4 separate regions of the Homo sapiens genome follow, and regions 1, 3 and 4 are each linked to region 2. The links are contacts of gene promoters, found by promoter capture Hi-C in blood cells and fetal thymus (Javierre and others, 2016). All regions are on one chromosome and are shown on one strand. Each heading gives the region's core, a stretch centred on a gene start or on the middle of the fragment in contact. The rest is flanking DNA. Distances are from core to core; before and after follow the strand shown.

What was found. Contacts are between HindIII fragments. The CHiCAGO score rates a contact against its expected background, and 5 or more counts as called.
Region 1: a fragment that was not itself captured here is called in contact with the fragment with the promoter of FAM135B in region 2 in 3 of 17 cell types (M2 macrophages, M0 macrophages and M1 macrophages); the score reaches 13.3 in M2 macrophages.
Region 3: a fragment that was not itself captured here is called in contact with the fragment with the promoter of FAM135B in region 2 in 1 of 17 cell types (M2 macrophages); the score reaches 5.1 in M2 macrophages.
Region 4: a fragment that was not itself captured here is called in contact with the fragment with the promoter of FAM135B in region 2 in 1 of 17 cell types (M2 macrophages); the score reaches 5.1 in M2 macrophages.

The regions. Positions count from the first base shown.
Region 1 is chr8:138,683,869-138,691,669 of GRCh38, forward strand. COL22A1 (collagen type XXII alpha 1 chain) reads right to left here. Exons shown (of 65, transcript NM_152888.3): 36 at 6,953-7,006; 37 at 5,049-5,102; 38 at 1,340-1,444; 39 at 557-601. Among named protein-coding and RNA genes, the nearest start is that of FAM135B, 190 kb to the left of the region's middle. The HindIII fragment of the contact is 3,863 bases long and covers 1,493-5,355 here.
Region 2 is chr8:138,494,962-138,502,671 of GRCh38, forward strand. FAM135B (family with sequence similarity 135 member B) reads right to left here and starts at 2,300. Exons shown (of 20, transcript NM_015912.4): 1 at 1,710-2,300. The HindIII fragment of the contact is 6,997 bases long and covers 1-6,529 here.
Region 3 is chr8:138,706,962-138,714,707 of GRCh38, forward strand. All of the region lies in intron 30 of COL22A1 (collagen type XXII alpha 1 chain), which reads right to left. Among named protein-coding and RNA genes, the nearest start is that of COL22A1, 200 kb to the right of the region's middle. The HindIII fragment of the contact is 1,856 bases long and covers 4,473-6,328 here.
Region 4 is chr8:138,630,129-138,636,879 of GRCh38, forward strand. It overlaps COL22A1 (collagen type XXII alpha 1 chain), which reads right to left. Exons shown (of 65, transcript NM_152888.3): 48 at 6,614-6,667; 49 at 4,882-4,935; 50 at 567-620. Among named protein-coding and RNA genes, the nearest start is that of FAM135B, 140 kb to the left of the region's middle. The HindIII fragment of the contact is 1,301 bases long and covers 2,763-4,063 here.

The DNA.
Region 1 (7,801 bases), core at 2,174-4,673, 190 kb after region 2:
GAAAGTCAGTGTCTCCCACCACTTCATTTAATGGTAAGTATTTATTAAGTACCGATTATATGACAACTACTTCAATGTAACAGTTAAGAGTCATAGAAATGGCTGGGTGCACTGGTTCTATCTTCTCTCACACCTGTAATCCCAGCACTTTGGGAGGCCGAGGCAGGTATTACAAGACCAGGAGTTCAAGACCAGCCTGGCCAACATAGTGAAACCCCATCTCTACTAAAAATATACAAAACAAAATTAGTCGGGCATGGTGGTGCATCCCTGTAGTCCCAGCTACTCTGGAGGCTGAGGCAGGAGAATCACTTGAACCCAGGAGGTTGAAGTTGCAGTGAGCTGAGATCGCACCACTGCACTCCAGCTTGGGCAACAGAGTAAGATTTCGAAAAAAAAAAAAAAAAGTCCTAGAACCTTTAGTCAAATGGAACACGATGAGCTGAGAAACATGGAAGTGGACTGAGGTAACCGGAGATGCTTATAATCAATTTTTCCACGTTCTCTTTCAAACGGCAACTCGTGGCACCCACAGTTTTCTTGGACAAGCACTCACCTTGGTTCCTAGGGGTCCAGGGAGTCCAGGTGATCCACGGAGTCCCTGGAGAAATAAATAATACAAGGACAATCATGGAGCTGAGAGTGAACACTGACCCATCCACCACGTGCCAGGCTGACTGCATCCTCTGCTGGGGACCCAGAGATGGGTGAGACTCACTATGACCTGACTTGCACAAAAGAAACAGAATCTGGTTTTGAGCCACAAGGCCCTGGATGTGAATTCCGACTCTGCCTCCTACTGTCTCTGTGTGGCCTTCAGGAAATCTCTTAGCCTCTCTCAGTTTGCTTTCCCATTGAAGAGCCTTATTGTATAGACTTGCGCAAGTAAGGGGCAAGGCCTCGTTTCAAAGCAGGCTTTGAAACCTTCACTTCAGGCTGAAGGGCTTTGGCACTCACAGCCACAATGAAAACCATGATTCTACGTTTGGAAGTCTTGGCTGAAAGCACCAGAGTAGACCAGAAGTCCTTCTTTACGCATACCACACTTGTCCTGAGCTGTGGGGATGTGTTTGCCTGACTGTCTCTCCATGAGATGGGAGCATCTCCAGGGCGCAGCCTGTCTCATCCATCTCTGTATCCCCAGCACTGGCCCAGGCTGGCATGTGGCCAGCAGTCCATGAGGTTGTGCTGCCCTAGCCTGAACCCCTTTCCCAACCAGGCCCATTTCATTGGCCACGGTTCAATTTCTGCAAAGTTTGGCAGTTAGATTTTTTTCCTTTTCCTTCTCTAATTTTCACCTGGTTTCTACAGGCACTGGGACCCCCGACCTTCCACTTACCGGCTCTCCATCCTTCCCTTTTCCGGGTGGCCCAGGGAGCCCAGGAGCACCAGGATCTCCCCTGGGACCAACTGGCCCTGGGCTGCCTTCTTCCCCCGCTGCACCCTGGAAAGAAAAGTAGACATTTCCCAGGGTCAATTACACTCAGCACGAAGCTTTTCTATGGGGGAGCAGCTTGAGTAGGTTTGTAGGTTTCCTGGGGCTGCCTTTATGATTTTAGAAGGCCCATGCTTTCTGGGACACAGAAAGATGGACTGTGTAATGTGTGTTATAGGTTACATTGTGTTCCCCAAAATTCGTGTCTTGAAGTCCTAACCCCTACTACTTCAATGCACAGATGTGATTAAAGTTAGGATGAGGTCATACTGGAGTGTGACCCTCCCCAATGGTCCTAATCCAATATGAGTAGCGTCTTTTAAAGAAGGAAGCATTTGGACATACATGCATAGAGGCAAGAGGACACAAATACACAGGGACAAGACACCACCAATGAGCCAAGGAGAGAGGCCTGGAACAAATGCTTCCTTCACAGCCCTGAGAAGGAGCCAGTCCTGCCAACACCTTGACTGAGGACTTCCAGCCTCCAAAACTGGGAGAAAGTACATTTTTGGCTGTTTAGGCCACCCAGTTCATGATACTTTGTTACTGCAGCCTTAGTCAATCAACTCAATGCAAAACATGGAAAAGGAAAGGACGTTAGTGACGACCTCCCACCCAGTGCGGGCAAATCTATTTCCGGTGCATCTCTTACAGATCAGCCCTCATTTCTGCTTGAACTCCTCTGGGAGCGGAGACCTCACTACCACTCCACACTGGGCATTCCTTTGTCAGGTAGCTCTGTTATGCAACATTTCTTTATACTCAACCTTCTCTGAAATCTTCCCAACATTGGACACTAAGTCTGTTCCCTGGAACCCTGTAGATACAATCCAATCCCTCTTACAGTTAGGTTTTCAACTATAAGAACAGAGCCTAAAGCTGCAATGGAGAGAGCAAGAGAGAGAGAGTGTGAGAGTGCTAGCATGGGCACCGGGGTCGGCTTGAGGACCTGGGCTTTGAGCTTGCTCCAGGCCAGTGCTTCATCTTCTCTGACGACAGGGCTCTGAACAGCCCTTGTGGCGGCCCTGACTGTGGAACACTGGGTTGAGCCCCGCGAACCAGACGGACTCCTTTCCCCAGACTGGGCTGCCCTGGGTGGAAGCTGCAATCACAGTGTTTCCAGACATTCTCAGATGGAGCAGAGGTAAGGTAAGATGAGCCAAGGATATGCAAAGCAAGGATGGAGAGGGCCTCTCTCCAAGCCTGGAGCAGGATCAGCTTCCCCTAGCCGCAGGCCAGCCCCTGGACATGGTGTGAGAGGGAAAAAGTATGCTGTGATGTCCGGGATTTTTACCACTTTGCAGAGCCCTGGAGGTTCCTTTCCAAATCCCGGGCCCGGCCCTCAGCCTGGGCCTCTGCTCAGCCAAGGAAAGGCATTTGGCTCCCTCTAGAGGCTGAATGTGGCAATAGCCCACTGATTTCTGGTTTCTGAACATGCACCTGTTAGTCCTCCTAAGAGGCCATCCCCTTCCAGGTTACCAATGTCCTACTTATAATGTGCCGTCCTTCAGACATGGTATAATTAAGGAATACCAGATGAATCCAGATGTTTTTCCTTTGCTTAATCTAGGCAGTCTGAAATGGCATTATCTTCTTTTCAAAAAATGAATGTTTGTACCTGTATTACATAAGGTTTGTTATTATTATTATTTATTATTATTATTATTTGAGATGGAATCTCACTCTGTCATCCAGACTGGAGTGCAGTGATGTGATCTCAGCTCAAGGCAACCTCCGCTTCCCAGGTTCAAGCGATTCTTGTGCCTCAGCTTCCCAAGTAGCTGGGATTACAGGCATGTGCCACCATACCCAACTAATTTTTGTATTTTTAGTAGAGATGGGGTTTCACCATGTTGGCCAGGCCCGTCATGAACTCCTGACCTCAAGTGACCTGCCTGCCTTGGCCTCCGAAAGTACTGGGATTACAGGCGTGAGCCACCACGCCCGGCCCATAGGGTTATTATTAAGCCTATGATCAACACTCCAAAAACCCAAGAGAGTCTTCATAGATGTGTTGATCATTTTTCTCTGCACTAAGTTCTTTTTTTCTGGGAGACGTGTATCTTAAAATTGAACCTTCCTGCAAAAAGGCAAATGACATCTCCTCGTGTTAAATTATGCAAAAACATAAGAACTGAAGTGATTCTTTAAAAGGCACCAAGTAGATGAACTTGAACTTGAAAGAATTCATGTTAAGAAGTTTGGCCAGGTGTGTGCTAGGAGGGACCTCTGTGGACAATCCATGCCCCAATATCGTCTCTTCCTGTCCATGGATACTAGTGTGATCTGCTCACGCAGGGAGGGCAGGACACAACCACATGGTACCCTTGTCACCTGTTATCTGCTGAGTCCTTTGCACATGACTCCCCAATTCCTCAGCTAATCCTCACAACCTATGATCAATGCGGCATCACCCTCATTTTACAGATGAGAAAATCCAGGTTCAAAGAGAGTGTGCTTTATTTAGATCAGGGTTTCTCAACCTTGGCACTATTGACCTTCAGGGAGGATCGTTCTTATAAGGGGAATGTCTCATGTGCTGTGAGGTTTTTAGCAGGTTCTCTGGTCTCTACCCACTGATGCCAGGAGCAGTTACTCCCCTTAGTGGTGACAACAAAAAATATCTCCCTGGGTAAAAACCCCCTGTTGAGAATCACTTTTGTCACCCTAGCTTATATCAATGCAACTAGGGCAAGAGAGCTGGCATTTGACTCAGGTCCAAACGCTGAATCATTCAAATGAGTACGTCTGATTTCCTGAGCCCTGGCTCAGTGTCACCAATTAACCTCAGAGACATTTCCTAAGGTGCTATGTCAGAGAAATGCAGAATGGAACTTAAAAGGGTGTAGATTCTCCTTCTTGGCCTCTGGGTTTTTTTTTTTTTTAATTGGTATGGGAACATGTGTCTCTCTTATTAATAATTAAAATCTCAGGCTGGGTTCAGTGGCTCACACCTGTAATCCCAGCACTTTGGGAGGCCAAGGCGGGTGGATCACTTGAGTCCAGGAGTTTGAGACCAGCCTGAGCAACATGGTAAAACCCCGTCTCTGCAAAAAATACAAAAATTAGCCAGGCATGGTGGCGCACACCTGTAATCCCAGCTACTCAGGAGGCTGAGACATGAGAATTGCTTGAACCCGGGAGGCAGAGGTTGTAGTGAGTGGAAATCACACCACTGCACTCCAGCCTCAGTGGCAGAGTGAGACCCTGTCTCAAGAAAAAAAAAAAATCTCATAGCTTGGGAAGGTTTACGTGTGTGAGCATAGGTGTATAATGGATAAGTTGGTGCACTGAATTGAGAGAAAACAGGATTTGGAGTCAGACAGACCTAGCTCTGTAGCTTATTTGCTATGAGACACAGAGCAAACTAATTAACTTCTCAGAGCCTCAGTCTCCACATCTGTCTAATGGGCACTTGTCTGATTCTCAGGTCTGTTGTGAGGAATAAATGAGCCAATGGGATGGCACAGTCTTCCTCTCCCTCCTACTTAGTAAACCCCTTCTGATTGCTGGTTCCTAAACCAGGCCCGAGCAGAGTGAGCTGCTCCTTCAGTGCCTGTAAGAAGTTAAGGATATTCACTTGTGTGCTGAGAGATCATATTGGTCTTACCTTCTCACCACGCTCCCCATCTTTCCCTGGGGTGCCTCTGAGGCCGGGAGCACCCTGTGGCAAGGAAGATTACGGACATGGTGAATTTAAAGATGACTGGTCACTCTTGGTGGCTCGTGACCCCCAGGGAAGAATCATCAGGTCCCCCTGAAGTCAACGACTACAGCTCCCACCCAATTCCCATACTTTATTTAAATTCCCCAAAGCTCCACCTCCTCCCTGCCCATGACTGCTGCTCTCCCGGGGGGGGGGCTGGCCTTGTAACAGTGCACATCAGAGCTCTTAACAGCAGGCATGGTCTGCTGGAAGCTTTACCGCCTGCTCTGGAATGTGAACTATCAGAAGGCGTGGCCTGGCACAGTGAACACTCTGGGAAGATGAGGATGGCCTTAAGAACCCAGCCTTAGCATTGGGGCATCTGCTCCAACAGTGTCTTTGGAGTCCCCAAAAGGTTGACTTTGAGACATGGTTTAAGTGCAAGCGTCCCATGGATGCAATAGTAGGGAAACAGAGAAGCAAAAAGGGGAGAACACTCATGCCTGTAATCCCAGCACTCTGCAAGGCCAAGGCAGACGGATCACTTGAGGTCAGGAGTTCAAGACCAGCCTGGCCAACATGGTGAAACCCCATCTCCACTAAAATACAAAAATTAGCTGGGCATGGAGGCACGCCCCTGTAATCCTAGCTACTTGGGAAGCTGAGGCAAGAGAATCACTTGAACCCAGGAGGCGGAGCTTGCAGTGAGCCAAGATCATGCCACTGCACCCCAGCCTGGGTGACAGAGCTAAACTCCACCTCAAAAAATAAAAATAAAAATAAATAAAGCAGGGGAGAACAGGCAGCAAGAAATACACTTGCTGGCCACTGGAGCTCTGTCCTGCTGTGACTCTGGGATCCTGTGCAGGACGTACGCTCAGAGCGATGACAGCTGAGAACAAGTGATCTGAGCTATTCTGCTGGTGGTGCTGCTGGCCACCCATCACGTGGCTCAACAACATACTCTTTAGAGGCCAGAGAAGACTCCCAGCCAGAAGAATGCAGGCTGGGCTGCAGGAAGCCTCCATGTAAAATAATAATATTCCTCCAGCAGGGTTGCTGTGTGGATTAAATGAATGAACACATATTCCTCCAGCAGGGTTGCTGTGCAGAGTAAATGAATGAACACATGTAATGTGCTTAGTACCATGCCTGGCATGTATAAAGGCTCAGTCCTCTAAGCTACTATGCTTATTACCTATAAAGGCTTGATGAAGAAACAAGACTGACCTAAATCTATTGTAGGGGAAAAACGCTTTGTTGCCCTTGACTAGATGTCATGGAGTGTTTTGTTGAACAATGTTCAAGTCTAAATTGGTGTTTATGGTGAATCTTAAAGCTGGTCCTTTAGCGGACACCTTGGGCCTCGACATGGAAAAGGCAGAATCTCGTCAGGCCAAAAAAGATGCAACCCTAAAGGTGAAGCAGCCAAGCTATTGTCTCCATTTTGCAGATGAACTAGCCGAGACCTCAAGGAGGGGCTTGCCAAGATGGTCATGTCAATTAATAAAAGAGCTGGATTCGAATCCAGGTCCCCCAATAGCCGTCAGGGGACCTTTGACTTCTTTAGGTTCATTTTCTTTCTTCTGAAGCAAACTAGGGTGTTGATTCCAACACCAGTGAAATGTACAGACTTTCTGCAGATGCCAACAGCTGCGTTTACCCTCTGGATAGCTGGCGAGTTGCCTAGGGCTCAGGTGTGTGAACTTTCTGGGTGGTCTATGTCAGGACAGCAGTGTCTCCGTCTGGAAAATGGGAGTAAGGATCCTCCCCTTACTCCCATGTATCCTACGCCTCTGGCTTTTGGGGAGGATACATTAACTAGCTTGGTGGCTGGGCCGTGCGTATGCCCTCTCCCAATTACTCACCACACTTCCTGGAGGGCCACTGGGACCGGGGGCACCGACATGTCCGGGAGCACCCTGTTCAGAGACAGAAGTTTAGAAAGGCCAAACGCATTGATTAGAAGTAGTTGCCCCCACTCTCTCTGCAAATCTGCCTCATACTCAATTCACCGCAATGTGCTGGAACTGCTGCTGACCTGACAGCCTCTGCAGACGTGAACCTCCTCTCCGGAGGGCTGTGGTGTCCCAAGCACCAAGCCTCAGGTGAGTGGGCTTCTGGCACAGAGGTGAAAGGCAGGAGGGCAGGAGGACTCTGGAAGTTCCTTAGAGCTAAGGCACAGGGGTGTGGAGGAGCCTGGGTGTGGGCAGAGAAGGGCTGGGACCTAACCACAGAAGAGGATTTCAGGTGAGGTTTGGCCTTATCCTAAGTGCATGAGGAAAAGGAAACATTGAAAAATGAACAGTTCAGATCTCAGTTGCATATGTATGTGTATGTGTGCACGTGCGTGTGTGCAGGTTTGTGGAAGCGTATGTGTGTGCATGCGTGTGTGCACGTTTGTGGAGATGTGTGTATGCATGTGCATGTGTGCATGTTTGTGGAGGTATGTGTATGTGTGCACGTCCATGTGTGCACGTTTGTGAAGGTGTGTGTATGTGTGTACGTCCGTGTGTGCATGTTTGTGGAGGTATGTGTATGTGTGCACGTCCATGTGTGCATATTTGTGAAGGTGTGTGTATGTGTGTATGTCCGTGTGTGCATGTTTGTGGAGGTGTATGTGTGCGTGTGCATTTGTGAAGGTGTGTGTGCATGCATGTGTGCACGTTTGTGGAGGTGTATGTGTGCACGTGCGTGTATGCATGTTTGTGGGGGTG
Region 2 (7,710 bases), core at 1,050-3,549:
AGCATTTTCCCCTGAGAAGCCCTCTTTATGTTGCCCTGAGTGAATCTTGGACCAGACTACAGTGTTTCCACTGTGAGTCACTGACTAATATTTCCACTCTCTTTTCGTAGTTGATGGATGTTTAATGATTTGCCAATCTGAGGAAGAGAGATTCTTTAGAAAACAATAATCCCTTTTACTTGCACAAGACATCAGGTTTTAAAAAGCCCTTCCCAAACATCCTCTCCACATCCCATTGGATTGTGATTGAGCCTGGTAAACTGCAAGACTTGTTAGTTAGTATCCCCATTCTCCAGATGAGAGAAAGAAGCCTCAGTGAGGTGGAACAACTCAAGGTCACACAGCAGGTGCATGAGGAAATCAGAGTTCAAATCCATGTTTTCTGACCCTCCAATCTGGTCCACTTTCCTCTACACCTAACCATCTGTCTAAGCTCTGATAACATCATCCATATTATGACATAAATCTCCAGATGAGAGGTTGGCCAAATCACATCCCCTTGGGTAACATAACCACACCATAAATTAAAAGCCCAATTAAAGAACATAGCCTTTTAACTGGGACTTAGACTGTCCCCCGAGGCCACGATATAAAGGAAGAGCCCTTTCAAAGTCAATGGCTGCCTATCCTGGATATTATTCAGAGGCCTACTTACCTACATGCACGAACTTTCAGACCCTAATTATTCACATGCTATCTTCCTTCTTCCGGGGCCCTGGTCCCAGCTGATCTGAGTTTGTAATCACTCCCCAAGCTCTGGCCCTCTCTCCAGCCTGCAGATGTAGTTAACAGTCCATCACACTGTATGGACAGCCCAGGTGCCTCTCGGCTTTGACACATCACTTAACATCAAGAGCATCATAACCTGATGGAAAACAATGCCCCCTGGTTCAAATGGACAACTGAAGCGGTGTCTCCAGCTGTCTGAAAGCGAGATAGTTTGCCAGTGGCCAAGGAGCAAGGATTGTCACTATGAGCGATGTGATTCTTGTTTTGCTGGCAAAGTGGGGTGGGGAGCTAGAAATGAGGTGGGGAGAAGGGGAGGGCATAGTCTTGACTGCTAGCTCAAAATTTTATTTCTATTCCCATCCTATCCCTAATAGTCAACGGCAATAACATGATACTCCTGTGTCCCAAAATAATAACAGTTACTACTTGCCTCGTCTAAACATCCCCTCCAGTGACTGGGCTTGAAGCTGGCTCTACAGATCAAGAGCTGGTCCCTTTCCATGTCACAGCTGAGCTGCAGTGTCCCCGCACACCCCTGTCCCCAGCCAAGCCACAGGAAGAACGGGTCTGTGCATTCGCCTGGATCACAGGGAATCGCTGCCACTGTCCCCTCCACCCCAGTGCGGTCTTCTCCTGAGCCTGGCCCCCGGGTTCCCTGGCTCCAAGGACCCCAATGGCCAAGGTCTGCATGCGCCCCCTCAGCCTCCATCTGGGACTCCTGGGGGGAACCCCTCATTAACCCAGCCTCTCCGCTCCTTTCACAGCCCTGGCCCTTCTTATCCCCTCAAGACCTGTCCAGATGTGCAGCAAACCTGGAGGGCAGAGAGACTGGGGAAAATCGAGGGAGATAAACCACATTTTGCGGCGGAATCGCTGTTCCGTGACAGAAAGCCATCCAACTGGCAACCACGCTTGCAGAAGCGTCACTACCACCGACGAGAGAGTTTTGCAGCTGCCGACCCCGAAGCGCTCTCACCTACCTGTCTCCACTGCAGGGCTCCCCTCTCTCTCCCCCGGGGGCCGCGCTCCTGGGTCCCTCTCTCTCCTCTTTCGCCGTCTCTGGCCGCCAACAGTTGCGGCGGCGGCGGCGGCGGGCGGACTGGGGAGTCCGCAGCACCTGCGAGCTGGTGTTGGGTCCCCGCGGCGAGGCTGCCTGGAGGAGGAGCGAGCGGATGCTGCCCTCGCCCGCCGCCGCCGGTGCTGATGCGGTTGCTATGGTTATGGAACCCCGCAACTGCCCCCCTCTCCGTGCAACAGCTGCCCGGCCGCGGCCTCCGGGCAGCCCCAGCGAGCAGGCGCCAGGACGCGAGGCTGTCAGCGCGGTCGGGGGAACGCAGCCGCCAGCGCCGCAAGAAAGCAAGGACCGACCGGCTGCGCCCGCGCCGCTGGGCTGGCGCCTCCCGGGCTGCGCTCACCTCTGGCGCCCTCACTCCTCTCCTTCCTCCGCCGGGACGCGGCCAGACCCTCCGCGCCGCGCCGCGCGCCCTCGCGGCCGGGAGAGCCCGCCCTGCTGCTCCCGCTGGCTCCGCTCCGCAGCCGCTGCGCACCGCGTGGGTAGACGCTGCGCGACTGGCTGGCGGCGCGGCTCACGCGCTCCCACCTCGGTCCCTCTCCGCCGCGAGGCCCTGATGGGAGCCCGGGGCGGGCCGCCCGGCGGCCAAACCCCGCCCGCTCGGCCGCCCGGGTGCCCAGGGCGCAGGCTGCGGCCCCGCGTGCGGCCCTCCCAGACTGACCGGCGCGAGCATGCTCAGTCCCCGCGGCGGGGCTCCCCTCTCGAGCCAAGACCCCAGGCCTCGGGCAGGAAAAGGGTCCCTGCAGATATCCGGGGGCGGGGCGCGGCGGAGAACTGGCTGGGAGGGGACTGTTGAACTTGGAAGAGAAGCCCAGGCAACAAGTAGATGCCTGAGAAAGGGTAAAAGCGCTGAGCAACCCATACCTCCAATGCGAAGTCAGCAGTGGCCTTCAACCAGCCAGCCGGCCCGTCATCCGATGGGCTCCTCACTTCATGCTGAACGTGGGGGTTCACAGACGTGTGAGATTCTGTCCACGGAGGAGGGAGAGGAAGATTGGGGAGGGTTAAGCCAGCTCCCGTCTACTGAGCATTCTTAAGGGGCATTGGGAACTCTAATTATCACCACCACTGTGCTGGCAAGTTCTCGTGGCATGCCTGTGACAGATGACAAAACAGCCTTAGAGAAGGAGCCAAGACTGGGACTCGGAAGCCCAGTGACCCGTCCACTAGACTCGGCTGCACTAACTCCACCCAGGAGGAGGCAGGGAATGGAACCAGGCATTAGAGGATGACTATGTCCCCCATTAGACTGGGCTGCACTAACTCACACCCCAGGAGGAAGCAGGGAATGGAACCAGGCAATTGCAGTTGGCAGGAGGAGTCTCTAACCCTGTCAGGCTGGGGGCAGGGGCAAGTAATTGGGGAAAGATACCTGAAAAAAAGGTATAAGAACAAATGAGTGGGGCGGTGAAGGGTAGAGAAGACTGCTCTTTCCAGGACAAGAGGAGCAGGGTACAGAGGCCTGGAGGCAGGACAGAACAGCAGGAACCTAGCAGCAGCAGGCAAGGAGAGGTGAGGCAGGCGAGTGGTGAGGTTTACAGGGCAGGCACTGCACACCAAAGGCCTTGCGATCCAAGTGAAGGGGTTGGAATTTGACAATGTGACCCTTAGGATGGGAAGGGAATGGGGAAGGTGGTGGGGAGGAGGGCAGTGAAGCAGTTTAAGCAGGAGAAAGGCTGGGTGGGAATGAAGGGAAGATCACCTTAGTTGAAGTGTGTGTGGTGCTGGCTAGGGTGGGGATTAAGGCTGCAGAAAGAGGTGTCCTAAGGAGGCTGTTGACATAGTGGGCCTGGGCAGATGGAGGCTCTGAGCTATCTACCCTGCTTGTCCTCCCCACAGCACCCAGCAAGCCCAGGGCAATGCATACCCTCAGTAAATGTTTGGTGAATGGCAAATAAATATGAATTTCTCAATAGAGAAAATGGGTGCTTTTCTTTTACAATATTTGTCTCTTAAATGTGTTCATAACCATATGGCATTTATTTTGCTATTGACATTGCATTTTTATGCAACCTTATTTTTGAAAGTCAGTGCAAGCACTCATTATTTTCCTCTGCATTTTCTAGTCCCCAGCAGTAGAGATATGCCAGGAGCATAGGATTTACTTGTATTGGATGTATTGTCTGGATAAAACAGCTCCATGATTTATTAAGTGAAAAAGCAAAGTGCAGAATAGATAAAATAAGATAATATTAAAATAAGACAACTGTTGTGAAACAAGGAGACAGATACACATATTTGTATTGCTTGCATTGGCATAAAAATACGCTAGAAGGCTATGTAAGAAACTTGGAGAAGTAGCTATTAGCTATGAGGGTGAAGATGGGTGGAAGAACTAGGTTGACGAGGTTAGAGTGAGAGTGAGAATTTTGACATACACTATTTTTTTGTTTCTTGAGACAGGGTCTTACTTTGTTACCCAGGCTAGAGTGCAGTGGCACAATCTTAACTCACTGCAGCCTTTAACTCCTGGGCACAAGCAATCTTCCCACCTCAGCCCCTCCAAGTAGGTAGGACTACCATGCCTGGGTAATGTTTTTATTTTTTATAGACCTACCACCATGCCTGGGTAAAGTTTTTTATCTTTTGTAGACCTACCACCATGCCTGGGTAAGGTTTTTATTTTTTGTAGAGATGGGGTCTGGCTATGTTGCCCAGGCTAGTCTCAAACTCCTGGGCTCAAATGATCCTCCTGCCTCAGCCTTGCTGGGATTATAGGTGGGAGCCACTGCACTTGACCTCAACATACACTTTTATAAAACATTTTGATGTTTAAGCCAAAAAGAAATTGCACATATATGTAAGTGTGTATGTGCATATATATAAACACACACATACGTATGTGTGTATATGTGTGTGTATGTGTGTGTGTATATATACATATACACATAATCTGTATATATAATCCATGACTAGAATCTCAGTGAATCTTGAAATAACCTCAAAGGCAACATGCAACGTGTGCCAGTGAGACCCTATGTCCCCAGAGATGCCCCCAATCCTTGTTCCCCATGTGGTAAAATAGTATTATGAATTATGACTGCAAAGTCTTCTTCAAACTGTGCTCATGGACTGCCCGGCATGACATTAATCAATCAGCTGCAGTGATGCACTGTTGGCCCCGAGATCCCCTTACCCATTGTCCTCTTAATGAATGGGCCTTGTGCAAGGTAAGGCCCTGAACAGCTGGGGCCTGGGGGAGGTCTGGAAGGGAAAGCCTCTGCCACTGCCCAGGTTGGGCCTTGGTGGAACTGACTCAAAAGCAGCAATAGCCCTCCACTGTTATCTCCCACCAAGAAAATGTCCCACTGCCCATCAAATCACAGAAGCCAGAAACCTACCATCATCCTAGGCTTCCTAACCTCTCCCTCTCTCCCGTTCTCTCGACTCTTCTCATCTCCCTCAACCGAATTAATTGCCAACGTCTGCCAATTCCACCATGTAAATAGCTCTCAGAGTCATCTATGACAGGGGATCCCTGAGAGATTTTTAAAAATCTTCTTCAAAAAGGGGTCATGAGTGATGACGTGTCTTTCAAGAGAAATGGTGTTTTGGCATGAGCAGTTACAGATAGGACAGATGGACACTGGTTCTGAGATGGATACAAGCCAAATCCAGGCCCTGGTTCTGCTGCAGGTGGAAGGTGAGCCCACTTGAAAGAATTGAGTGCTGAGAGGTACAGTCTGGGGAGCTCCCCTGAGATGCTTTGGCTGAGTGGGTTTCAAGGATGTGGTGTGAGGTTGTCCTCCGTCATAGGGACCACAGGGGCTTGAGCCCCTTCAGGGTGAGCAAGGGATCACAGCCAAGTGGGCCAGCATTTCTTCCTGCAGAAGGCAGGTTTTCAATGGTGACATCCTGTGGCAGCAAGAAGCAACTGTCCTAAAATGCTAATCGGACTCCACAGCTCTACATATCGGAGAGAAAGTCCGAGCAGCTTCCCTGGGGACTGGACTGTGTGCAAACCCCGGCAGATTGAGGACAATTCAGGAAGAACAGACGCCAAGAGGGAGCAACTTCACTTCCCGCTAATAGAAGGACACAGAGGAAACAATTTGCCAGGCCTGGAACCCTGGCTTCGCTGCTGTCTTCCTGTTGTCCTTAAAGATGCAGTGTGACCTAATTGCATCTCGGTTCCCATTTCTCTAAAACAAGGATAATAATAAAATGGACCTCAGAGCTTTTTTGTGAAGATTAAATGAATGAACACATGTGGATGCAAATGGATTGAAACTTAGAACCCTGCCTCAGACCAAGGAAGGGCTATATAGGCGTGAGCTGTTATTATGATCTTTTTCAATACTGAGATTAGTTGAAGAAATAGAAGAGGTGTCTGGGTGCCATGTTTATTAGTTATACTTTCTTATCTAGCCACACCTTGACCCAGGACCATCCTGCTTCTTATCTGAAATAATTTCTTATCTGATCTCTCCAAATCTTGTGTTGTCCCCTTTCATACTCTTCTGTATACCTCCTGTGGACCTTTTACAAATGCAACTTTGATCCCATCCTCTTCCTCTTAAGATCCTTCAGGAGTGACTCTGGACTTCCAGAATAAGTTCCATGCCCCAGAGTCTGGCCTTCATGGGTAGCTAAGGTCTGACTCCTGCTCTATTTGGTCCAGCAACACGCAAGTGTTTGTACTTCACAGAAAGCCTCACGATGTCTAGAACATCCATGAATTCTTACTCATCCTTCAAACCTCTGTCTCCTTATTACTTCCTTCCTGAAAGCTTCTCAGACCTACCTTAGAGTTAATCCCTTCTTCCATGGAGCTGCCTCTGAACCTCACACGTAGTCAGAGCCTGTAATATAATTATTTAATATAAAAATAGATTTCCCACACTAGACAGAGAAGTTTTTGAATTAAGTTATTTTAAAAGGGGCCTGTGTCTTTTTATCTTTCTTTACTCAAACTATAGCACAGTGTTTGGAATATACAGAGGATGTTCTCAGTACATGTCAAAAGTGTTATTTGAGGCCGGGCGTGGTGTCTCACGCCTGTAATCCCAACACTTTGGAAGGCTGAGGTGGGTGGATCATCTGAGGTCAGGAGTTCGGGACCAGCCTGGCCAACATGGTGAAACCCTGTCTCAACTAAAAATGCAAAAAAAAAATATATATATATCTGGGCATGGCAGTGCACGCCTATAATCCCAGCTTCTCGGGGGGCTGAGGCAGGAGAATCACTTGAACCCAGGAGGTGGAGGTTGCAGTGAGCAGAGATTGCACCATTGCACTCCAGCCTGGACAACAAGGTGATACTCTGTCTCAAAAAAAAAAAAAAAAAAAAAAGTATTTGAATAGATTTGAGGTTGATTTTCTTCTCATGTGAGATGGTTTGGCTATGTCCCCAAATCTTATCTTGAATTGTAGCTCCTATAATTCCCACATGTTGTGGGAGAGACCCAGTGGGAGATAATTAAATCATGGGGGTGGTTTTCCCCCATATCGTTCTCATGATAGTGAATAAGTCTCACGAGATCTAACGGATTTATAAGGGGTTACCCCTTTCACTTGAGTCTCATTCTCTCTGGCCTGCTGCCATGTAAGACATGCCTTTCATCTTCCACCATGAATGTGAGGCCTCCCCAGCTATGTGGAACTGTGAGTCCATTAAACCTTTTTCTTTATAAATTACCCAGTCTTGCATATGTCTTTATCAGCAATGTGAAATGGCCTAATACATCATGTATTTGACTTGTGGCAGCCAACCAAAAATCAAAAGTTTGTTTTAAACATCAATGTAGTTATGACAGCCATTCGATTATTGCGTTTAATTTTATTAACTGATGAAATGAGGGATTGGTTCACCTAAGAACCAGCTTGATTGGCACAGGAGGGTGAGAAGGGAAATTAAGAGAAGGCTGACTTCGTTATGCTTCGGGGCAGGTCTTCAATGAAAATACTTC
Region 3 (7,746 bases), core at 4,151-6,650, 220 kb after region 2:
CCGATCGCACAGAAATACAAACTACCATCAGAGAATACTATAAACACTTCTATGCAGATAAACTAGAAAATCTAGAAGAAATGGATAAACTCCTGGACACATACGCCCTCCCAATACTAAACCAGGAAGAAGCTGAATCCCTGAATAGAACAATAACAGGCTCTGAAATTGAGGCAATAATTAATAGCCTACCAACCAAAAACAGTCCAGGACCAGATGCATTCACAGCCGAATTCTACCAGAGGTACAAAGAGGAGCTGGTACCATTCCTTCTGAAACTATTCCAATCAATAGAAAAAGAAGGAATCCTCCCTAATTCATTTTATGAGGCCAGCATCATCCTGATACCAAAGCTTGGCAGAGACACAACAAAAAAAGAGAATTTTAGACCAATATCCCTGATGAACATCGATGCAAAAATCCTCAATAAAATATGGCAAACCGAATCCGGCAGCACATCAAAAAGCTTATCCATCATGATCAAATTGGCTTCATCCCTGGGATGCAAGGCTGGTTCAACATATGCAAATCAATAAATGTAATCCATCATATAAACAGAACCAAAGACAAAAACCACATGATTATGTCAATAGATGCAGAAAAGGCCTTTGACAAAATTCAACAACGCTTCATGCTAAAACTCTCAATATATTAGGTATTGATGGGACGTATCTCAAAATAATAAGAGCTATTTATGACAAACCCACAACCAATATCATACTGAATGGGCAAAAACTGGAAGCACTCCCTTTGAAAACTGGCACAAGATAGGGATGCCCTCTCTCACCACTCCTATTCAACATAGTGTTGGAAGTTCTGGCCAGTGCGATCAGGCAGGAAAAAGAAATATAGGGTATTCAATTAGGAAAAGAGGAAGTCAAATTGTCCCTGTTTGCAGATGACATGATTGTATATTTAGAAAACCCCATCATCTCAGCCCAAAATCTCCTTAAGCTGAGAAGCAACTTCAGCAAAGTCTCAGGATACAAAATCAACGTGCAAAAATCACAAGCATTCCTATACACCAATAACAGAAAAACAGAGAGCCAAATCACGAGTGAACTCCCATTCACAATTGCTTCAAAGAGAATAAAATACCTAGGAATCCAACTTACAAGGGACATGAAGGACCTCTTCAAGGAGAACTACAAACCACTGCTCAAGGAAATAAAAGAGGACACAAACAAATGGAAGAACATTCCATGCTCATGGATAGGAAGAATCAATATTGTGAAAATGGCCATACTGCCTAAGGTAATTTATAAATTCAATGCCATCCCCATCAAGCTACCAATGACTTTCTTCACAGAATTGGAAAAAACTACTCTAAAGTTCATAGGGAACCAAAAAAGAGCCCACTTTGCCAAGACAATCCTAAGCCAAAAGATCAAAGCTGGAGGCATCAGGCTACCTGATTTCAAACTATACTAAAAGGCTACAGTAACCAAAACAGCATGGTACTGGTACCAAAACGGAGATATAGACCAATGGAACAGAACAGAGCCCTCAGAAATAATACCACACATCTACAACCATCTGATCTTTGACAAACATGACAAAAACAAGAAATGGGAAAAGGATTCCCTATTTAACAAATGGTGCTGGGAAAACTGGCTAGCCATATGTAGAAAGCTGAAACTGGATCCCTTCCTTACACCTTATACAAAAATTAATTCAAGATGGGTTAAAGACTTAAACATTAGACCTAAAACCATAAAAACCCTAGAAGAAAACCTAGGCAATACCATTCAGGACACAGGCATGGGCAAGGACTTCATGACTAAAACACCAAAAGTAATGGCAACAAAAGCCAAAATTGACAAATGGGATCTCATTAAACTAAAGAGCTTCTGCACAGCAAAAGAAACTACCATTAGAGTGAACAGGCAACCTACAGAATGGGAGAAAATTTTCACAATCTACCCATCTGACAAAGGGCTAATATCCAGAATCTACAAAGAACTTAAACAAATTTACAAGAAAAAAATCAAAAAACCCCATCAAAAATGGGCAAAGGATATGAACAGACACTTCTCAAAAGAAGACATTTATGCAGCCAACAGACACATGAAAAAATGCTCATCATTGCTGGTCATCAGAGAAATGCTAATCAAAACCACAATGAGATACCATCTCACACCAGTTAGAATGGGGAACATTAAAAAGTCAGGAAACAACAGGTGCTGGAGAGGATGTGGAGAAATAGGAACACTTTTACACTGTTGGTGGGACTGTAAACTAGTTCAACCATTGTGGAAGACAGTGTGGCGATTCCTCAAGGATCTAGAACTAGAAATACCATTTGACCCAGCCATCCCATTTCTAGGTATATACCCAAAGGATTATAAATCATGCTGCTATAAAGACACATGCACACGTATGTTTATTGCAGCACTATTCACAATAGCAAAGACTTGGAACCAACCCAAATGTCCATCAATGATAGACTGGATTAAGAAAATGTGGCACATATACACCATGGAATACTACGCAGCCATAAAAAGGATGAGTTCATGTCCTTTGTAGGGACATGGATGAAGCTGGAAATCATCATTCTTAGCAAACTATCGCAAGGACAGAAAACCAAACACCCCATGTTCTCACTCATAGGTGGGAATTGAACAATGAGAACACTTGGACACAGAGTGGGGAACATCACACACTGGGGCCTGTAGTAGGGTGGGGGGAGGGGGAAGTGATAGCATTAGGAGATATACCTAATGTAAATGACAAGTTAATGGTGGCAGCACACCAACATGGCACATGTACACATATCTAACAAACCTGCATCTTGTGCACATGTACCCTAGAACTTAAAGTATAATAAAAAAGGTAATAAAGTTATTTCTTATCCATCTTCCTGTTGATGACATTTATGTGGTTTTCCTCTGATTGCAATCATAACTAATGTTGATTTGTTACAGCAAATATCCTCACACACATGCCCTGAGCACAATTACACATTTGAAGTCCAGCTGTCCTAGGGATGCCAGCAGGCCCTGCCCCACCCCCATGAAGGAGTGGGCTCTTCTCAGGAACCTGGGGGGAACAGTGTTACATTCCTATAAGCAACACAGGCTTGGGAGTTGAATCACCTGAGCTTGAAACCTAACTATACCATTTTATAAATTATTTTACCTACTTTGGCATGTTTTCTCTTTGCAGAACAATGATGCTGATAATACATACAGCTCACAGCATGGCACAGAGATTGAGCAAGACCGTAAGGAGTACGGTGTTATTACATTTGGCCTGAGGAAAGGACGTCACTGAGCTGCTCCACGCAAGACAGTCCATGGTGAGTGGATACAGTTTCCAAAGCCTGTCATTTCATGTGTGCCACATGGTCCCAGGGGACAGGTGTCTATGTCTAGATCTGCTTCTTGAACCAGCCCAGGACTGGCTCTCTTGCAAGCCTTCCAAATATGGTTATGAAATAGAAAAATGTTTGAATATAGTTGGCTTAGAGAGAGACAAGTTCGCCCTTAGTCAACAACAATAATATGATTATAAAATGTTGTATCCTTTTCTACCATTATTTCTATTGTTATTTAGCATTTGATTCCAGCTCCTGGTTTAAGTAGTTTCCATGTGTGAATCCATTTCATCTTTGTAGCAATGCCCATAATCTATCTATCTATCTATCTATATATATATATCTCCATTTCACAGATGAAGAAACTGAGGCATAAAAATGTCAATGAACCTGCCCTAAGTCACACATTCTGCAAATGGCCGAACCTGGTTTTAAGCTCAGAATGCATGCCCTTTACAATTGTGTGGCATTGCTCTGACTAAAGTTCCAGTAGCTTCAGAAACAAAAGCACTTTCTTGGTGTTACTGTGTATTATTTGATTTTACCCAATTCTCTTCCTGACATTGTTGAACTCAAGCTCCAGAACCAATCTCATCTAAACCAATTTACTCTCCATTAAAATGTCCCAATGATCAAAGTTAAGTGTTTTCCCAGTTGAATATATGAATGGGTATCAATGAGAAGAGGGCTGGAGGAGAGATGTGTCTCTCACCCTGAGGGCATGAAGACTGCCTTTTGGAAATAGCCTCCTCATCCTGAGGGCTGTGGACAAGGGAAGAACAGCGAGCTGGAGCAGGTAGACCCATGGGGGCTCTCTGCCTTTGGAAAAGAGGCTTGACTAAGAAGGATCAATGGGTGTTAGGGTTGATGCAACAGGCCTGGGTTCTAATCCCAGCTCCTCCATGACGTGTTTGACTGTCAGCGCCCCTTGCTGGAACAGGAGCATCACACACACCCTTCCCTGATGCTGTGGGCCTAAGTGCCAGTAATGGGGAAGAACAGGGGACGTGAAGGGAGAAGCAGAGGCAGAGACAGGCAAAGCACAGTCAGAAGAGGGCAATGTTGCCTTAATGTCTTCTTTTGGATTTTCTGACCAAAATTGTCAATTATCACATATTTCTCTGGAGGAAAAGAAAGGCAAACCAGATTCTTTGGAAGCTTGAATGTGACTGCCATGGCCCTGGCAATTCCGTCCAAGTAATCAAAGGGGCTTTATGGTCTCGCTAAGCCTTTGCATTCTGGAAATGAGTTTCTCAAATAGAAACTGCATTTCTGAAAAGTCCACGGCAGCAGCAGGCCTGAATGGCTTACTGAGGCAGAGCCTTTTCCACTCTGGGCTCTCTATTTATAGACCGCAAGTCTGCCTGGAGCAAAGTCCTCAGCCTCCAGCCCCAGAGAAGGAGGATGGGAGACACTGCCTGGAGCCCAGAAAGCACCTGCGCAGAAAAAGATCTGGAAATTGGAGGGGAGAAAGTAAACTTGGGAGAATGGGGCACCCTGAAAAGCATCATGCAGGAGGAGGAAGGATGCAAGAGCCCTCTGGGTGTGTGGGTGCCATTCCTCCTGAGGCAGCCCCAGGGCAGGCCTAGCGTGTGGCATTCTGTGCTAAGAGCCAGGACTTTCTATGTGCACTGGCAGGGTTTAGATCTTGACTCTAAACCTCTATTCATGCAGCTCTGCACAAGCAACTTAGCTTTTCTGTGCCTCTGTTTCCTCATCTATCAAGTGGGGATGTTGTTGACAGCAGTGACCCCTCATGGGGTTGGCCTGAGATTACCTAAGTCCCTACACAGACGGTGCTCAGGACAGTCCTGCACTCAGTGAGCCTGCCACAAGTCATCCACCAACAGGAAATCCTTATGCTCTTTAACAACTCTGAGGGTCCTTGTTGGACTGGCAAACCAAGGCACAGGAAGGTCAGGGAAGATGCCACACAGCAGATAGAACCAGGACCATACTCCAGGCCAGCATTATGGGTCCAAGAATGGTGCTCTTTCTACTAAGCTGCAGGCAAGCACAAATAAACTCCTATGAGGGGTTTGGGGCAGGTGTTTATAAAGTTGCCGTGGAACTAGAGGTGCATTTGGTCAGAACTGAGCATGAAACAGCAAGAAAAGCAAGTGCCTGGTACAGCACCTTACTCAGGGTGGGACTCCCAACCCTGTCCATGCCTGTACCCCCTTTAGAGCCAGTAGAGGGTAATGGTTCTATCAGCATCTATCAGCAGGGTGTATGTGTTCTACCAGCAGAGAGTACATGTTCTATCAGCAAAGAGTACGTGTTCTATCAGCAGAGGGTAAGGGTTCTACCAGCAGAGAGCATATGTTCTCCTCAGCAGAGGGTACATGTTCTATCAGCAGAGGGTATGTGTTCTATCAGCATAGGGTAAGGGTTCTGCCAGCAGAGGGTAAGTATTCTACAAACAGAGAGTGAGGGTTCTACCAGCACAGGGCAAGTGTTCTACCAACAGAGGGTACATGTTCTATCAGCAGAGGGTACATGTTCTATCAGTAGAGGGTATGTATTCTATCAGCAGAGGGTAAGTGTTCTACCAGCAGAGGGTAAGGGTTCTACCAGCAGAGGGTAAGTATTCTACAAACAGAGAGTGAGGGTTCTACCAGCAGAGGGTACATGTTCTATCAGCAGAGGGTACGTGTTCTATCAGTCTTCTTAGACAATGACTGTCAGAGCAAATGGACGTATCTTTGGTGAAAGGGTAAGAACTAGAAGCACAAGTTAGAATCTAGTAGAAAGGATGTCAGTCATTGTGGTTGAAAGCACGTATTTTAGAGCCCAACTGTCTGGACTCACACCCACCCTCACTCTGTAAGCCTGGGCAGAAAACATAGTGGAATTTTTAGAGACCTGCTTGGCAAAAGAGCCCTTCGACTGACGAACTACAGTTGTGTGAACCCCCTATGTCTGGTGGACTCCTGGGGTGTGATGAGGTTTTGTCGTGGATGGGGTGGGGGGGCGGTGCTTTAGCCTGGAGTCAGCATGTGGTCCCAGCCAAGCTTTGGTTCTGTGAGTGTGGGTAAGACAGTACATCTCTCTATGCCTTAGTTCTTTCACCTATAAACTGGGGGTTAAGACGAAAATGACTTCATAGTTCATTGTTATGAAGATCACCAGAGTGAGCAACGGAAAACTCAAGAAATTGCAACTTGCAAAACATACTGAGTATACGGAACCCATGATTTCCCCGCACGCTGTTCAAGCTCACTCTGCTTTAGCAAAGGATCTTGTGTTTCAGACAAATAGGCCCGTGGACAAACATCTCGTGCATGTGCGGTTTTGGCAACAGCTCACGCATGTGTCAAACTAATCAGCGATTTTCCAGTGGACAAATTCTGACCAAATCATGCTGACTCCAGTCTAAAGCCTCACCCCTGACTCCATCCACAACAAAACCTCATCACACCCTATGAGTCCACCCCCACCGCCCCGCCGTAGGGGGTTCATGCAACTGCAGTTGTCTCACCAAGCAGATCTCTAAAAATTCCATTATGTTTTCTGATCAGCACAGGTTTCTCTGGGGCTTTGACATGAGCTGAAATATTATAGATGAAGTACCTACTTGCACCTCTAGACCAGACACTATCCTGGGTGCTGGCTTGGCTCCTGAGTGGGGGCTGCTCTTCTAAGAAGGGGCTGGGACCAGGGATCCAAGTCCTTAGGAGGTGAAAATAGTAAGGGACTTTCCTTCCCGGACCACGTGTGCCAAGTTAGGGTTCATCATACTCTCCAACCTGTTTTTGTAAAAGAAGGTTGGAGAGAGTAGGCATACATCCTCTGTTACACTGTGATTTAAAAAGTGCATTCTTCCTCCTTGAACCTGCCCGCATGTTGCCAAAGGCAAGTGGCAGTCTGGAGCCTCCCTCCAAAGCAATCAGAGTCAGACCCTGTGGGCTGGGCTGGCCATGCAGTCCCACCCGTGGTTCTGTAGGTTAGGCGTGTATCAAAATCTCTCTGAGTCTCAGCTCTTTTCACGTGCAAAACACGCTTATGGATACCAGTGGCTGTTTTCTGTTTGTCCCTTTATATCCACTCCTGTTCCTTTCTCCATCCCAGGAGGCAACCTCAGTGGTCTCATTGACCTCATCCCCTGGATCCCAGTGGTCTAGTAGGAGATGGAGAGGACAGAGAAGGACGGGATGAGATGCTGAGGATGTCAGGCCAAGGAGAACTGGTTTTGTCTGTTTTTCTGCCCAGAATGACTGCCAGGCTCCTTCTATGGCTGCCAGCCTCTCTGGACTCTGGGACAGCTCCCTCCCCTTGTCCTTTCCCACTCTTGCTCTTCCTAGTCCTGGAGGGTATGGCCACATCCCATCGGCTTCCCTAAGCACTGTCCACAACCTGCAATTACTCTGTCATTGAATTCTCTTCCACTGTCCATTTTGATTGTGCTGCTCCTGATGGACATGGTGTCT
Region 4 (6,751 bases), core at 2,163-4,662, 140 kb after region 2:
CCAAGAGTGGTTCTGGCAGCTTCAAGAAATGAAATCTGGATTTTGAGATAAAAGCCTTCGGTTCAAATGCCAACTCCACTGGTTGCGGTTTGGGATCCTGGACTAGTGACTTCTTTTTAATTCCATTCTCCTCTTTTGAACAGTTGGGATAACAATAGCTGCCTCTTGTCTGACATTCCCCTGGTGCACACCATAGTCCTAGGTGAGTTAGCACTGAGCCTTTCCACTTCCCTGCACCTGCTCAATATAGAAACCACACTGACAAGAAATTGAGATATGGGGCCTAAATGTAGGGCTTATTTGCATTGACAGTTGTAAACTGAATTCTGGAATCACAGATCTTCATATCATTCCAACCAAACCTTTACTTTAGCAGCAAAGTAAACAGGGGTCCAACAGAAAGCAAACCCTCCAGCAGTTTCATTGCAAGACTTGTAGTGAACAGAACCTCAAAAATATGTGAGCCACAGGAGGCACACAGGACAAGAGCAGAATTGGCAAACACCTGGGGTTCCAGAAAGGCTAAAGACAGATTAAAAACAGATCCCATTCCTTGAGGAACTTACAGGTGACCCTTGGATTCCTGGTGGTCCAGCAGCTCCTGCAATTCCATCTGCCCCCTAAAAAAGACAAGGCAGAAAGCTAGTTTCTTGTGCATCTAGACAGAGGTCATTAGCACCCTCTGCTTTGAATACAAAGCAATTGATATGGTTGGTTATCTGTCCCCTCCAAATCTCATGTTGAAATGTGATTCCCAATATTGTAGGTGGGCCCTGGTGGGAGGTGACTGAATCATGGAGACAGATCTCTCACGAATGGTTTAGCACAATCCCCTTGGTGATAAGTGAGCCCCCACTCAGTTCATGCAAGATCTGGTTGTTTAGAAGTCTAGGACCTCCCCACCTTTACTCTCTTGCTTCTGCTCTTGCCATGTGACACACCTGGCCTTCCTCTATGATGGGAAGTTCCCTGCGGTCTCATCAGAAGTCAAGAAGATGCTGGTATCATGCTTGTACAGTCTACAGAACTGAGCCAATAAAACCTCTTTTCTTTATAAATTATTCAACCTCAGGTATTTCTTTGTAGCAATGTAAAAACATCCTAATATAGCAACACACAGATCTTACATTCTGTGCCCCTTCCTAGCTTCCTGAACCATAAATATTTCAAATGTGCTTCTGCCTCTTCATCAGGCTGAGCTATTCTCTGGGAATACATGATGTTCAGAGAATAGCATCCACATTTTAGGACGGGCCAATGCATTAGCCAGGCAGTCACCCCTTTGAAAACAGTAAATGAACTCACTTCAGGATGGGCATTTTCAGCTAATATCAGGCAACATTTCAGGACAAAAAGTAATAAATGGACAACTCGATTTATCTTCCAGGAGATTAGGAAGGCAATTGCTGTGTCAACTCAAGGGTGAAGAGATGCACAGATGGATGAATGGAAGAAGACTTCTATGCAGCCGAGCAAGCAGCTCAAAGTGAGCTCCAGGCACACTTTTGCTGGGGACTCTTGCATATGCTGTTTCTTCCCCCTACATTCTAGTCCCTCACATATGCACAGCCTCATACCCTCCCATCCTACAGGTCTTAGCTCAGATATCAGCTTCTCAGTGAAAGGTTTTCTGCCTACCAGACCCAAAACTGAAAGACCTACCCTTCCTCATCCCTGCCCTGGGGAGGTCCCTTTTCTGTCTACCTTCCTCCATAGCACCTGCAAAAATCTGACATGCTAGTGTTTATTGATTTCTCATTTATTTAGTGTTCCTCATTGGAACACTAAATTTAGTTCCTCATTGGAACTAAAACAGTACCTGGGATATAGTAAATAATCAATATTCTTGAATAAATGAATGAATTAGAAGTTGAACTGACTGGGTTATGAAGGCAGCAGTTCTTTAGACAAATTCACACATGTGCCTCTTACTAGCTTTGGTTGAGTCATGTAACATCTCTCAACTTTAGTTTCCTTCACAGTGAAAGGCTGGAAATTGCACATGCCATTAGGAAGGGGAGGAGCAATGCGGCAATGCTTACAAGGTGCTAGGCACAGAAGAGAGGGTATTGGTTAAGAGTGCAGCCTCTTAGAGTTCGAGTTCCTGAGCCCATATCCCATTTCTCCACTCAACAGCTGTATAAGCCTAGGAAACCTACTTGACCCCTCTGTATTTCAGTTCCTTTGTAAAATGAAGGAAAAGAACAGCACCTATTTTACATGGGTTGTTGAGAAAATGGAATTCATGACACATAAGGAGTTAGCACCAGAGAAATGCTAAGGGCTGTCCAATAGGGACCTTCCATGAATATAAGTGTCTATTGTCCACCCACAACAAGGAATCCTGCAGATATTAACTAAATATAAAAGCATAAATAAGCAAGTTCCCGCAGTACTCTATTGATGTCTTTCCAGCAGCCTTTATTTAATTGTTGCATACTTTTATCAAGCGCCTAAACTGTACTAGGTACAAGCCAAATTTTAGAGATGTAAAAATGACTACATCATGGTCTTGGATCTCAAGGAAATTTGATATAACTGTAGAAGACCTGTCTTATTTTCCATGTATGACAAACTCCTGGGGCAGGGTGCAATCAGATTTGTCTCTATCACTTCTACTAGGTAGGGACCCAGTAAATGTTCATGAAATAAAGGGAGAGTGATAATATTTTAACAAGTAACCTAAGGTTCATGCTTTAATTAAATATGTAGTCCAAAGCTAATATAACAAATCTAGATTTTTCCACATAACTTTGATAAAAAGCTTCTGGCATCCTAGAGTCTGGAATCTTGCCAAGTTGAAAAAAAATTCCCTACTGCATATGGGGATGGGGTAAGTGTTTTATCTGGAATAAGGATGCTGACTGAGCACCAGAAAATAAATACTAAAAGAAAGGGCTTTGTCAGCTCGCTACCCATATCCCTGCATATTTCCAACAGGGCCTGACAATTAATAAGCACTTGAAAACAAGCAACAACAAAGAGCAAAACTAAAACAATGCATACATGACCAGAAAGGTTAATTTTCTGCTGTGGAGTTGCTTCTGCATGATTGGCTGCTGAACCTAAACAGGCAGCTGCCTCAGCATCCATTCTCACAGGCTATTAACAGTACAAAGCACGACACAAAATAGAAGCTCAATAAACATCTGCCAAGTGAATTGAAAGCATTAATCAGCTGGAGACAGACAAGCTGGCTTCTGATTATGATTGTTTCTGGGCCTCCAATACATCATCTAGCATGAGAATAATAAGCCAGGAGTCATTTCCTACAGCAGTCATAGAGTTCTAACTTATTGCAGCTTCCAGTGAGAACAGATCAGGATTTTGGTTTCATTGGGAACATGTTATGGGGTTTGGAACTACCAGGGTGGAGTGGAGATGAGGCTGTAATCCATTATTCATTTTCTGAGATCCTCAGCTGTTAAGGAGCACAATGTCATTTAGGAAGCTAATGTCATCATAATATACAATTATTCGTGAATAAACTATTTTTTAAGTAAAATTAGTTACCTCTCAATTGCCCCTCTTTGCTTAACACTAACACCTCTCCCTACTACTGATCGTATCAGCATCATTATCAGTTTCTCTTTTTGCTGATTGTCAGATGCTACAAAATCCAATAATATTCAAATACAGTGCAAAGCAACTACTAAGTGAAATTATAAGCCTTGAAAGAATTGTAGAATTTTGTGAAGTTAAATGACAGCAAACTGATAAATTCCCTACAATATCCTTCACAAATGTGCACATGGCAGAGTTGGGCCAGGTAAGATGTGAGGCTGAGAAATTAAAAATAATATTAACATCAAAGGCGCTTGGGAGGAAAATGTGTTGAATATTAAAGACTTAAAGTAGGCTTTCTGGGAAACTGAATAGTGCTTTTGTAGATAATTTACCTTTTTGTGAGTTTGCTCTAAAAGTCAACATGAAGTGAAAGATGCCATGTCATGCTTTCATCGGATTTTATTGAAAATATACACTTAAAACAACTTAACTTATTCCACTAATTAACACACAGTTAACAACTAGAAGTTGAGTTGTTTAAAAAGATGACAAAGCAAGCTTAATTTCATATATTTTAAATTTATACTCCTAACTGAACTTCTTTTCACTATACTTTCAAACAGGGTATTTCCTATTTGAAGGGGGATCCTTTTCGGTGGTCTTTCAGTCATTCCAGAAATCCTCTCCTTGCAAGGTCTGGGACAAGGGTCTCATGTGGAACCCATGGGAAATCCCAGGGGACTGGTCCTGGGCTTGGCAGGAACACTAATTTCCAGTGCCTGTTGCCATGGCTACCCATGATGGATATGTGGGCTGCAACAGCAGTGGACTCTGATCAGAGGAGGAACATGACTAATCTATGGGCAGCCTACACTGAAGGCAGAGGGAAATGGTGAGAAGGGCACCAGTCAATGTCAAGGCTACAGCTACTGTAAAAGCAGAGAGAACATTTGCTCAGGGGGCCCAGTGGAGATCATTGAGATAATATCAAGACAGGCTCCCCATAACATGGGGAAAGCTGCTTACAATTTCTCATTTTCTACCTTCTTTGCTTGCCATCATAATCTTGAAATACTAGCTTCCTACCCACCAAAGCTCAATTTGAAAAAAGAAGAAGTCTGTCTGTCTTTGCCAATGTCCCCCAGTCCCAACATCACTCTAATTGCATGGTCCATCAAGCCTACTCCAGACCGTCTGCACTTTCCCCCACATGCCTGTGGGACTTGCATTTTTAGGACAACTCTGTCACCTTTTGGGTGTTGGGCCATCCCTTAAAATGAGAGATATGCTCAGTGTCATACCATGCCTGGTGAGTTGAGATGTGCATTCAAATGTCAAGGCCGAAAGAGGAGGGGATTAAAGATGATTACTTACTGGTGGCCCAGGGTTCCCTGGGGGCCCCATGAAACCTGGAACTCCAGGATGACCCTAGGAAAACACAAGATGCAATTCTTTAAAATGACTTGAAAAATACTTTTTACTTTGTGCAAATATCAAATTTCAGAAAACAATACAGAATCCACCTTCCAACCCTACTAACAATTTTGCTTAAAGACACTGACAATAAAAGGGACTTCTTTTTATATATCTCAATAATAACTGACAACATTTATAAAAACAAACATGTCCTGAAAGCGGATTTGCTTCAAAATAATGTGTGGGCAGGGGGTGTGGAGAAATGGTTGAGGACATAAATGAAAACAAGAGGGGCCATAATAATTGAAAGCTGTTGTGGTTAAGTGCAGGGTACATAAATGTTCATTTTATTACAGTCTTTATTCTTTAGATATGCTTGAAGTGTTTCATAATAAAAACATAAAAAACAAATAAATGCACAGAAACACAATGTACACAATGGAAATGGTTAGGTTAACTGAATTACAGCCTCCATATTCTGGCAATATTACAGTTATTTTAAGCAAGAGATTTGTTTCTCCATGTGTAGAGGAGTCTATTGCATATTATAGAATGAGCTGAAAAAGTTATAGAACAAAGCTTGGAATCTAACACTTAGTCTTGTACAACAATGTTATGAAACCAAATAAACCACCAAGAAACAAATGATTTCTCTGCCCTCCACCTCCAAGCCTTACCACTGAAACCACAGGCTACACCATTCAATGTAGAGTACATTGCCTTTGATAAGTCATTCTCATAAGAATAATCCAAACACATTTTGTTTTTCCAAATACAGAAGAGATTTTAGCCAAGGAGCTCATTCAGACTTTGAGCACTGCTCTCATCTCACTGCCTGTGGGTTACTCGTTCATGTCCCTCATGCCCTCACTGAACTGCAAGCCCAGTGAGGTCAGGAGTTTGTCTGCGAGTCATTCCAGATCTCAGAGCCAGGTGCAGTGCCTGGCATGGAATTGGCTGACAATGAGCACTGGCTGTGAGATGCAGAAGAGAGGGAGAAGTAAAGGGGAGGGCAGCTGGGAGAGGAGAGAAAAGAGAACAGGGAAAAGGATGACAGCAGCAAAGCAGAAGGATAACAGTCATTTCCGTTGGCAGGAAGGGTGGTAGAATTGGACTGGGCAGAAATCAGCTGGTTGTGCTGGATAGAGGATGATAGGTAGGCCATGCTCAGATCCACAGAGAGAGCAGTGAGCCCTTATTGGTACCATCCTATAGCACATTAGGAGCAGTGGTCCAGCAGGCCTGGATGGGCACTGATCTGATCAGAGCATGGAGTATCTGTGAAGCATTTCAGCTAGCAGCAAGAGAGCCAGGCAACAGTTAATTGAGATGATGGGAGGGAAGAAGGGGGAATTTTTTAATGAGTGTCCATTTCAGTGAAAAAAAAAGTAAAGGTAAAATAGTACAAAAAGAAAGAAAAGAGAAGGAAGAAAGGAAAGGAAAGGAAAGGAAAGGAAAGGAAAGGAAAGGAAAGGAAAGGAAAGGCAGGGAGGCTTCTCCAATAATTGAGGGAGAGAGGGCACTTAGAGTGAACCAGAGATACCAAGATGAAAACCATAAAAATGAGATTTTAAAAAATCCTGCTACAGGCAAAGAAGAGACAAGGAATGACATTGTACAATGGAAGCCACCTGGGAGAAACAGTGCTCCTTCCTCAGGGTGAATGGTTCCTTATAAAGTAAATTTTTACCTGATCACCTTTCTGCCCAACCTCACCATCTGCACCACGTTCTCCTTGACTTCCCTTGAAAGGAAAAAAAAGAAAAGAAAGATGTCACTGGAAATTTTAATAGGAAAACAAAAATCATTTTCATGCATTCATTCATCC